Linked DNA regions of Homo sapiens: regions 1 and 3 are each linked to region 2. The links are contacts of gene promoters, found by promoter capture Hi-C in blood cells and fetal thymus (Javierre and others, 2016). All regions are on one chromosome and are shown on one strand. Each heading gives the region's core, a stretch centred on a gene start or on the middle of the fragment in contact. The rest is flanking DNA. Distances are from core to core; before and after follow the strand shown. Region 1 overlaps TRD-AS1 (TRD antisense RNA 1). Region 2 holds the start of AJUBA (ajuba LIM protein). Region 3 overlaps TRD-AS1 (TRD antisense RNA 1).

Region 1 (2,700 bases), core at 40-2,539, 600 kb after region 2:
AGTGGGTGATGTTCCTCTTCTGCCACAGTCCCTGGCGATGTTGATGTGATTGCCATCAGAGCTCAGAAGCACAGAGCAGAATCATCCCCTGGAGGAGGATTCCCTTCAGTGTAAGAAGTTCTTACAGAATTAATCCTCAAAGACTGTGGGTGGACTCTGCCAGGTTTTTCCCCGGGTGTACCAGAAGAGAGGAAGAGCCCTCAAATACAGGAAAGTGCTCTTTTCAGTGACAGTAGTTCTTTTGGGCCCTGTGGCTAAGTGTGCTCCCACCCCAGCAGTAAGATCACAGCTAATCCTGAGAGGCAAGAGCTCACACCAGGCTACTGAAAGAAAAAGTGTCCTTTGTGGATTGCAAGAGGAACTGGGACACACTGCTGGAAATGAAGTGGCAGGTCATAAACTATCATAAACTCAGGAGGAGAGGTGTTCCTTTTTGAGACACTCATCACAACTAGAGAGAATGCAGCTAAGAAAATGCAGTCTTTAGGGGGACCTGGACTGTTGAAGTATTTGAGCTATTCGGAGGAAATAGAAACTTGGAAGAGATCTTTGTTCCACTATTATTTGGCAGCCCCTTACCCGCAGCTGCCATTACTCCAGATTCTCTCTGATGATCCTGCATCAGGAGAATGAGTTGACTGGGCACCACTGGGAAATGTGGGCAGCTCCAGGCTGAACTAGAGAAGGGGCATGTCAAAGGTCACTTATTTGTGGCTTGACCCTTTGGAGGCCAGATGTAAGAATCAATTTCTCACAGGTCCCATGCTAACGCTTTTCATATTTATTTCCATCTGAGACTCACTTAGGCTAGGCAAATATCCCATGGGTCTGTACCTCTCCAGTGCTTTCTTGCTCATGTAAAATTAGCTCATTGGAATGAATAAAGAGAATGGTATTACTTTGGCTCGAACACGAATGAGCACTTTCACTTTGTCATAGTGTAAATATTAAAGTTGTAAGAGACAGCCCAGGGACCAACTATTTTTTTTTTAAAGATCCAAGTGCTTGCATAGTTTCTAAAATTCTACACCGGGGAACTATATCCTCATTCAGCACTGAGACTCCTTGGTTCCCTAAAACCAAAGTCTCCAGGTGCCTTCAGGGGCCAACCAAGATGGAGCTCCTTATAGACCCATGCAATGTCAGAACTGGAAAACTTAGAAATCTTTCAGTCCACCCATCATTTTATGGGTGGCAAACTGAGATCCAGAGAATGCTCAAATCTCATAATTAGCTATGAAAGGTTATGATTAAAATGCAAATTTGGGGCCTCCAATTTGGTCCTCTTTTCACTCTCCTTCTTGCTGGGGAAAGAACAGTGATTCCTTGATTGGCAGAGCAGAAAATATCTTCAGTTTTTAGGATGACTTTATTCCCCTAAAGAGTATCTTTGTCACATCTCCTCCTTGTCCATTTTTAGAGACTCTACAGTGTTTAGCTACTGGTAGATTTGTTCTAGTGGATCTGGTACAAATCTTATAGAAATATCTACAATTATTCCATGTTATTCTGAAATTATTCATACAGCATTTCTTCTGTTTTATTAGCCATTTTTAAGGGAGAAGGAACCTAAGATTAATTGCTATGGCTACATGTCATGCTCACCAATGAACTCACCTCATTTTAATCCTCATGATCTATTATAGTAGGAATGCTTGTTGTACATAAGTATTCAGGATTACTGAATCCACTTGAATTTTTTGAGGACAGTGGCCAAATACAATTCTGTGGTCAATTTAGGCTGCTCCTACTGTTCCCTGATGTTAGGCATTTTCTTCCACTAGGTCCTCTGGAAGGATGAAAAACAAGGCATTATTATACTTTTGAATAAAAATGGTTTGCCAAACAGATTATGTTTGTAGTTTGTGCTGTTGAACAGAAATAATAAAGAACTCTACTTGAAGTCTGAAACAAATTCAGGAAAAAATTAAAGGCAGTTTTATTTTACATAGTAGGGAGTAGATTTTAGGAACTCCTTGCTCCTGGGGTAGAGCATATGAATGTGTATTCTAGAGAGATTCAGACAAATTCACTTATGTTAGACAAATGACTTTAAGGGAAACTAGGAATGTTTTCAGGGCACATAACCTTGTATTTAAAAGATACTGTTATTAGATCATTTTTTCTCATTATAAAAATATGTTTTCATTGAAGAAGAAATTGTGGTTTACATACAATTATAAAAAGAAGAGGAAGAAGGAAATAATCTATTATCTCACTACCCAGAGACAATAACTACATCATTTTGGCATATTTCCTTTTAGTCTTTGGTCTTAAGTATATTTTCTGACATTGTTGAGGCCGTTTTGTACATTCAATTTTCTGTTAACTTTATTTTCCCCCATGTAATTTAAAACTCTTGAAAATCTAATTTTTAATGGTGGCATAGTATTCTACTGGGTAGATGTTGCTCAATTTGCTTAACTGTTTCTCTAGTGTTGGATAGTTATGTTATTTCAAATTACGTGAAAGTATGAAAAATATTTAATGAACATTTTGCTTATATAAAATCTGCTCAGAAGACCCTTTTAATGATAGATTTCCAATATTTGGGTCAAGAGGATGACTATTTTAAAAGCTGTTGATACCTAATGCCAAATAATCTACTGTTATACTGTATCAATTTGCAATCATAGCAGTAAAAATGTAATTGCTCTTAATATGCCGAATTTCATCAGCATTAGATTGTGATTGTTTAAA
Region 2 (2,700 bases), core at 191-2,690:
TGTCGCCCAGGCTGGAGTGCAGTGGCCGTGATATTGGCTCACTGCAACCTCTGTCTCCCGGGTTCAAGCGATTCTCCCGCCTCAGCCTCTCGAGTGGCTGGGACTATAGGCGTGCGCCACCACGCCTGGCTAATTTTTGTATTTTTAGTAGAGATAGGGCTTCACCATGTTGGCCAGGCTGGTCTGAACTCTTGACTTCAAGTGATCCGCCCGCCTCAGCCTCCCAAAGTGGTGGGATTACAGGCGTGAGCCACCGCGCCCGGCTGCTTCAGCCAGGGTTTCTTTTCCTTATTCTTGATCCTTTTAAAATAGTCAATATCAGCCTCTTTTCCATCCTGATCATTTTCATTTGCAATTTCCTCTACACGGCATTTCTTTTCTTCCTCTTAATACTTACTCTGTATCACCAGTCTTCTGTGGACCAAAACCAAAGGGAGAAGGTGTTCGCTAGCCCTAAAACCAGGCCTTCGATCTCCACAGTCACCTGAAATGAGAAAAATCTCATTTCCCAACACCAGGGGGTGTCTATCCCTCTAACTGTCCTACCCTTAAGGTAGAGATTAGTCCCAAACCTTTTCCTCACTCCTTTTCACTGCTTCTACATACACACTATATCTCTTTCCCTCCCTCTCAAAGTAGAGATTAGTCCCATTTTCCTGACTCCTTTTCACTGCTTTTACAAATCACAAAACTTTTGGGTCCAGAAGGTGGTGCCTTTTTATTGCAGTTTATCTGTTTGTCTCTCATTCTCTCTGGACAAGCTTGTCCTTTCCTTTGTCTGCGCACCCTTCGGTCTCTGCATCGTCCACACTCCTCTTTGCTCCTCAGCTCTCCCTTTCTTTCGCTACCTCTTCCCTCTTCCACCTCTCTCTGTGGGCTTCGTCGCCTTTCAGGGCTATCTTTACGTACACGTCTCTGAACCTCTTTATGCATTTGTCTTCTTTCTCTCTGTCTTCCTCTTTATGGCTCTCTCCTTGTCTCACCATTTCTGTACCAGTCTCTCTCCATCTCTCCCACAGTCCCCACGCTGGGAACAAAGTCACGGTGCTAGCGCAGAACATGCCTCCTGTCGTCCGGTCCCGGGACGCGACACATTCCACCATGCCCCTCCGCGCATTCCAACTGCAGACAAAGAGTCCCCGTCCCCTACCCCCACACTCTTTCCTATTCCAATTCTTCAGTGTTGTAGGGGCAGCTGCCCCAACTGCCCCTGCCCGCCTCTCACGTCCAGTCCGCGGGTCTCCACATCCAGGGCAGTTAGCGCCTTCCGCTGCACGCACACCAGCTATCCCTGCGCGGACACCCCCGGCGCTCTCGCACACACCGCGCTCCGCCCCCCTAGGAAAGTAGATCCGGCCAGGCAGACAAAAGTTTGGGAGAGAAGTTCGGTCTGTGGCTAGCGTGAGAGCTAGGGGGGCGGGGGCCGGGGAGAGTGGGGCAGTCGGGCGAGTCGACGCGTGAACAGATAGACCTGCGGACTGGACAGCCGCGGCCAGAGACCCTGCTAGCCCCGCTCAGCCCCAGATGCGCGGGGGGACGCAGCCCCTCCCGCTGGGGGATGCTGTGGGATTCCTGGCGCAGGGCATCCAGGCCGCCCGCTAAGCCCCTGTGCCTCCCCTGTGCCCCTGGGGAACCAGAGTCCGGCTGCAGGGAAAGAGAACCGGCCGCCGAGACGCCGCAGGGTGCCAGGCGGGGAGGGGGCGAGAGGCCCCAGGCCCGAGGGCATGGAGCGGTTAGGAGAGAAAGCCAGTCGCCTGCTGGAGAAGTTCGGCCGCAGAAAGGGTGAATCTAGCCGGTCTGGGTCTGACGGGACCCCCGGGCCGGGCAAGGGGCGCCTAAGTGGGTTGGGGGGACCTAGGAAGTCAGGGCCCCGAGGAGCTACTGGGGGACCTGGGGATGAGCCGTTGGAGCCGGCCCGGGAGCAAGGTTCCCTGGACGCTGAGCGAAATCAGCGCGGCTCCTTTGAGGCGCCGCGCTACGAAGGCTCTTTTCCCGCGGGGCCGCCGCCCACCCGGGCCTTGCCTCTACCTCAGTCGTTGCCCCCCGATTTTCGGCTGGAGCCCACGGCCCCGGCCCTCAGCCCCCGCTCTAGCTTCGCCAGTAGCTCGGCCAGCGACGCGAGCAAGCCGTCCAGCCCCCGGGGCAGCCTGCTGCTGGACGGGGCGGGGGCTGGCGGAGCTGGAGGTAGCCGGCCCTGCAGCAATCGCACCAGCGGCATCAGCATGGGCTACGACCAGCGCCACGGGAGCCCCTTGCCAGCGGGGCCGTGCCTGTTTGGCCCACCCCTGGCCGGAGCACCGGCAGGCTATTCTCCCGGAGGGGTCCCGTCCGCCTACCCGGAGCTCCACGCCGCCCTGGACCGATTGTACGCTCAGCGGCCCGCGGGGTTCGGCTGCCAGGAAAGCCGCCACTCGTATCCCCCGGCCCTGGGCAGCCCTGGAGCTCTAGCCGGGGCCGGAGTGGGAGCGGCGGGGCCCTTGGAGAGACGGGGGGCGCAACCCGGACGACACTCTGTGACCGGCTACGGGGACTGCGCCGTGGGCGCCCGGTACCAGGACGAGCTAACAGCTTTGCTTCGCCTGACGGTGGGCACCGGTGGGCGAGAAGCCGGAGCCCGCGGAGAACCCTCGGGGATTGAGCCGTCGGGTCTGGAGGAGCCACCAGGTCCTTTCGTTCCGGAGGCCGCCCGGGCCCGGATGC
Region 3 (2,700 bases), core at 30-2,529, 590 kb after region 2:
TTGTACCTGCTGAATACATTTTATTATTTGAGAAGTGTTTGTTATATATGTTGGTATCCTTCACAATACTCAGTACATCAATTTGAAAGCCTTAAGGGACTTTTAGTTTGGAATGAATGAATCGATGATGCATTCAAGATGCAAGTTTAAGATGACACTAAACACCCTGTGTGTTGTTGGTGGATCTTTTGAATTTTCTGTGTTGAGGCTGCTTGAGGCTTACAGTGTTTGTTCAGTGTGATATCCAGCATGCATCATGGTGCCCACAGTGCACAGCAGTAAATGGCTCAGTCTCTTGGCTGCACATGCTTAAGGATTCGGGTTCTGGAGAACAATTTTCTGTCCACAGACAACTAGCAGTGCTCTGATTCCAGGGTGCCTTGAAAGGATAGCAGATATAGGTAAACCTTTGGTTAGCTCTTTGCAGATGCCAGCACAAAGAATCATAATTCCCATCAGGAATGTTATATTAGCGTTGGAACTTGACATCTGTCCCAATCATTGTGGCCATGTTGGAAGGCTGTGTGATTTCAGTCTTGCAGGAGCCATCTGGCAAAGAAAAAAATGATAGAAAATGAGAAATGAGAAGTGGTGGGGAATCACACCCGTTTACCTGGGGGCCACTTACAGAGGAAGGGCAACGCAGTGTAGAGAAGCTGGTACACGGCGTGTCTGCGATTCTCAGTGCTGTGCACCAGCAGCCTACATTGCATGCACAATGCACTTGGGCCACCTTATCTACAACAGCCATGTGGCTGCTTCATTGCTGAAGCAATAAAAGAAAGAGGTCCTTGGGGGTGGTTGATGCTGATGCTATCAAAAGACACACTCAGATTTGTTGAAAGGCTGCAATCCAACAGGCTCCTCAGAGGAGGCTCTGGTGCCCTCTGCCACTCAGGGCCTGTGTTTTCAGCATATGGTGCCATTCGCTTATCAGCCCCAGGAGGCTTATTCTCTGAAAGGAAACAGCCAGGAAAATAGTCTTTTGTTGAAAGACACTTGGTGGGTCATGATCTCTTGGGTCCTTGTTCCTGAATTTCAGGAATCTAAGATGCCCAGAAGGATGAGCAAAGGTAGAAACAGTCATTTTTCCAAGTGGACTGTGGCTTCTATTGCCTATCTGACAGTTTCTAGTACTCAGACTCACTCTTCAGAAGCCAGACAGGGAGAAAGTATTTTGCTCATTTTAAATTAATCAATTAATTGATTAATCAATCAACCGTTCATTCAGCAAGTGTTTATTGAGTGCCAAGTATATACAAACCTTCTGCTGAATGCTGAGGATACAATGGAAAAAAAAATCAGCTGAAATTTCTGCCATCATGGAGCTGGAAATCTGGTAATGATGCATAACTTTAGGCAAGAGAAGCAGGTACAGCCTGTTAGATTCTGTATATGATTCTGGGCAAGGGTAAGGTGAGGGCCTTCTGGAGTCTGTGCATATTCAGGCAGGACTTTTCCCCAGTCAGCAGAGCTGGTTGTGAGCTCACTATGGAGGGACCAAGGCTGGAATTTTCCCTGGCAACCCATGCCAAGTTCAAGAGTCAGAAGGTTGCTTTCCTGCCCACCTTCTTTCATAGCCATTTTCCCACCAAGAAATTATTCTATTTGTTGACAAAGTTTTGGAGTTCCTGACTTAGCACTGTTATTCTATTCTTGGAGCAGAATCAGCTTGGCTGCTATTGTTCCCACTGTGAGGATAACTGCATCTTTTGTGTGATGGTTTTCTTTTCACTGTGTACACAATGATTGCAGAGCCATAAAATTTTAATTTGGGATAAATAATAAGCTATCTTTAGGGCCAGTCTTATTTTGGGAGTTGGGACTGATGGAGGTCAAGGATCCTTTCTTTTTTCTTGCCTTTCTCAAAATCTGTACCCCCACCCCTGCCACTCTCCTACTTCATCTCTTTCCTTCTCTGTCTTTCAAGATCACATATCTTTCTGCAAAATACACTCATGAACAATTTTAAAGGGAGAGCAGGACAATGGACAAAGGAATAAGGAGACATTCACCCCAAGATGCCTGGACTTAGGGTTACACAGAATTGAGCTGGTGACAACTGTGACTGCACAGATACACCATAGACATGTGCACGAGGAGTGTTGGTGGCATGGCTGTAGGTGTGCCCACACCAGAGCAGGTGGGGTGGCATTGGTGGCCAGAGGCTTGCCCATGGCAGTGTGGATGGTGTTTGTGACAGTGGAGCTGGTTGGGAAGATGTATGTGTGCTGCACGGTGGCCCTGGACAGGCCTACCCAAGACTCCCAGGAAGGCTGTCTTTGCTGTTGGGGGAATGTTGTACTTGAAGCCATTTTACTGGGCTGGGGTGCCAACTGGATAGGGAGGTCAAGGATTTAGAATATTTTCCCTGGATCTGGGTTTCCTTGTTCCAAATCTGAAGACAGGGGAAAAGATTATTCAGAGAAGAAAAAGAATATAGATGTTTGGCTTTTATTTCTTATTCAATCAGTGATCAAATGGGCACAGACAAAGTAGTTGGGTGCTTATTCACACGAACAGCTTTATAAATAAGAGGAGTGGGCAACTATGTAATGATTTTTGAGGGTCCCGAGAAGACCACTGCCCCCAAATCTCCTCTATTGGTACCTGGCATTCTGCCACTGGAGATTAAGCCTTTGGACCATAGAAACATAAAAGCATTCCTGGAAGGATTGACACCTTAAGCCTTAATGGACA

Evidence for each region. Contacts are between HindIII fragments. The CHiCAGO score rates a contact against its expected background, and 5 or more counts as called.
Region 1: a contact is called between a fragment that was not itself captured here and the fragment with the promoter of AJUBA in region 2, in 2 of 17 cell types (total B cells and naive B cells). The highest score is 5.4, in total B cells.
Region 3: a contact is called between a fragment that was not itself captured here and the fragment with the promoter of AJUBA in region 2, in 1 of 17 cell types (naive B cells). The highest score is 6.3, in naive B cells.

What each region holds. Positions count from the first base shown.
Region 1 is chr14:22,378,894-22,381,593 of GRCh38, reverse strand. TRD-AS1 (TRD antisense RNA 1) reads left to right here. Exons shown (of 5, transcript NR_148361.1): 5 at 1-2,189. It also overlaps TRA. Among named protein-coding and RNA genes, the nearest start is that of TRD-AS1, 100 kb to the left of the region's middle. The HindIII fragment of the contact is 4,926 bases long and covers 1-2,700 here.
Region 2 is chr14:22,981,291-22,983,990 of GRCh38, reverse strand. AJUBA (ajuba LIM protein) reads left to right here and starts at 1,440. Exons shown (of 8, transcript NM_032876.6): 1 at 1,440-2,700. The coding sequence starts at 1,725. RefSeq lists enhancers at 460-1,425, 1,426-2,391. The HindIII fragment of the contact is 4,726 bases long and covers 764-2,700 here.
Region 3 is chr14:22,395,494-22,398,193 of GRCh38, reverse strand. All of the region lies in intron 2 of TRD-AS1 (TRD antisense RNA 1), which reads left to right. It also overlaps TRA. Among named protein-coding and RNA genes, the nearest start is that of TRD-AS1, 86 kb to the left of the region's middle. The HindIII fragment of the contact is 3,589 bases long and covers 1-2,700 here.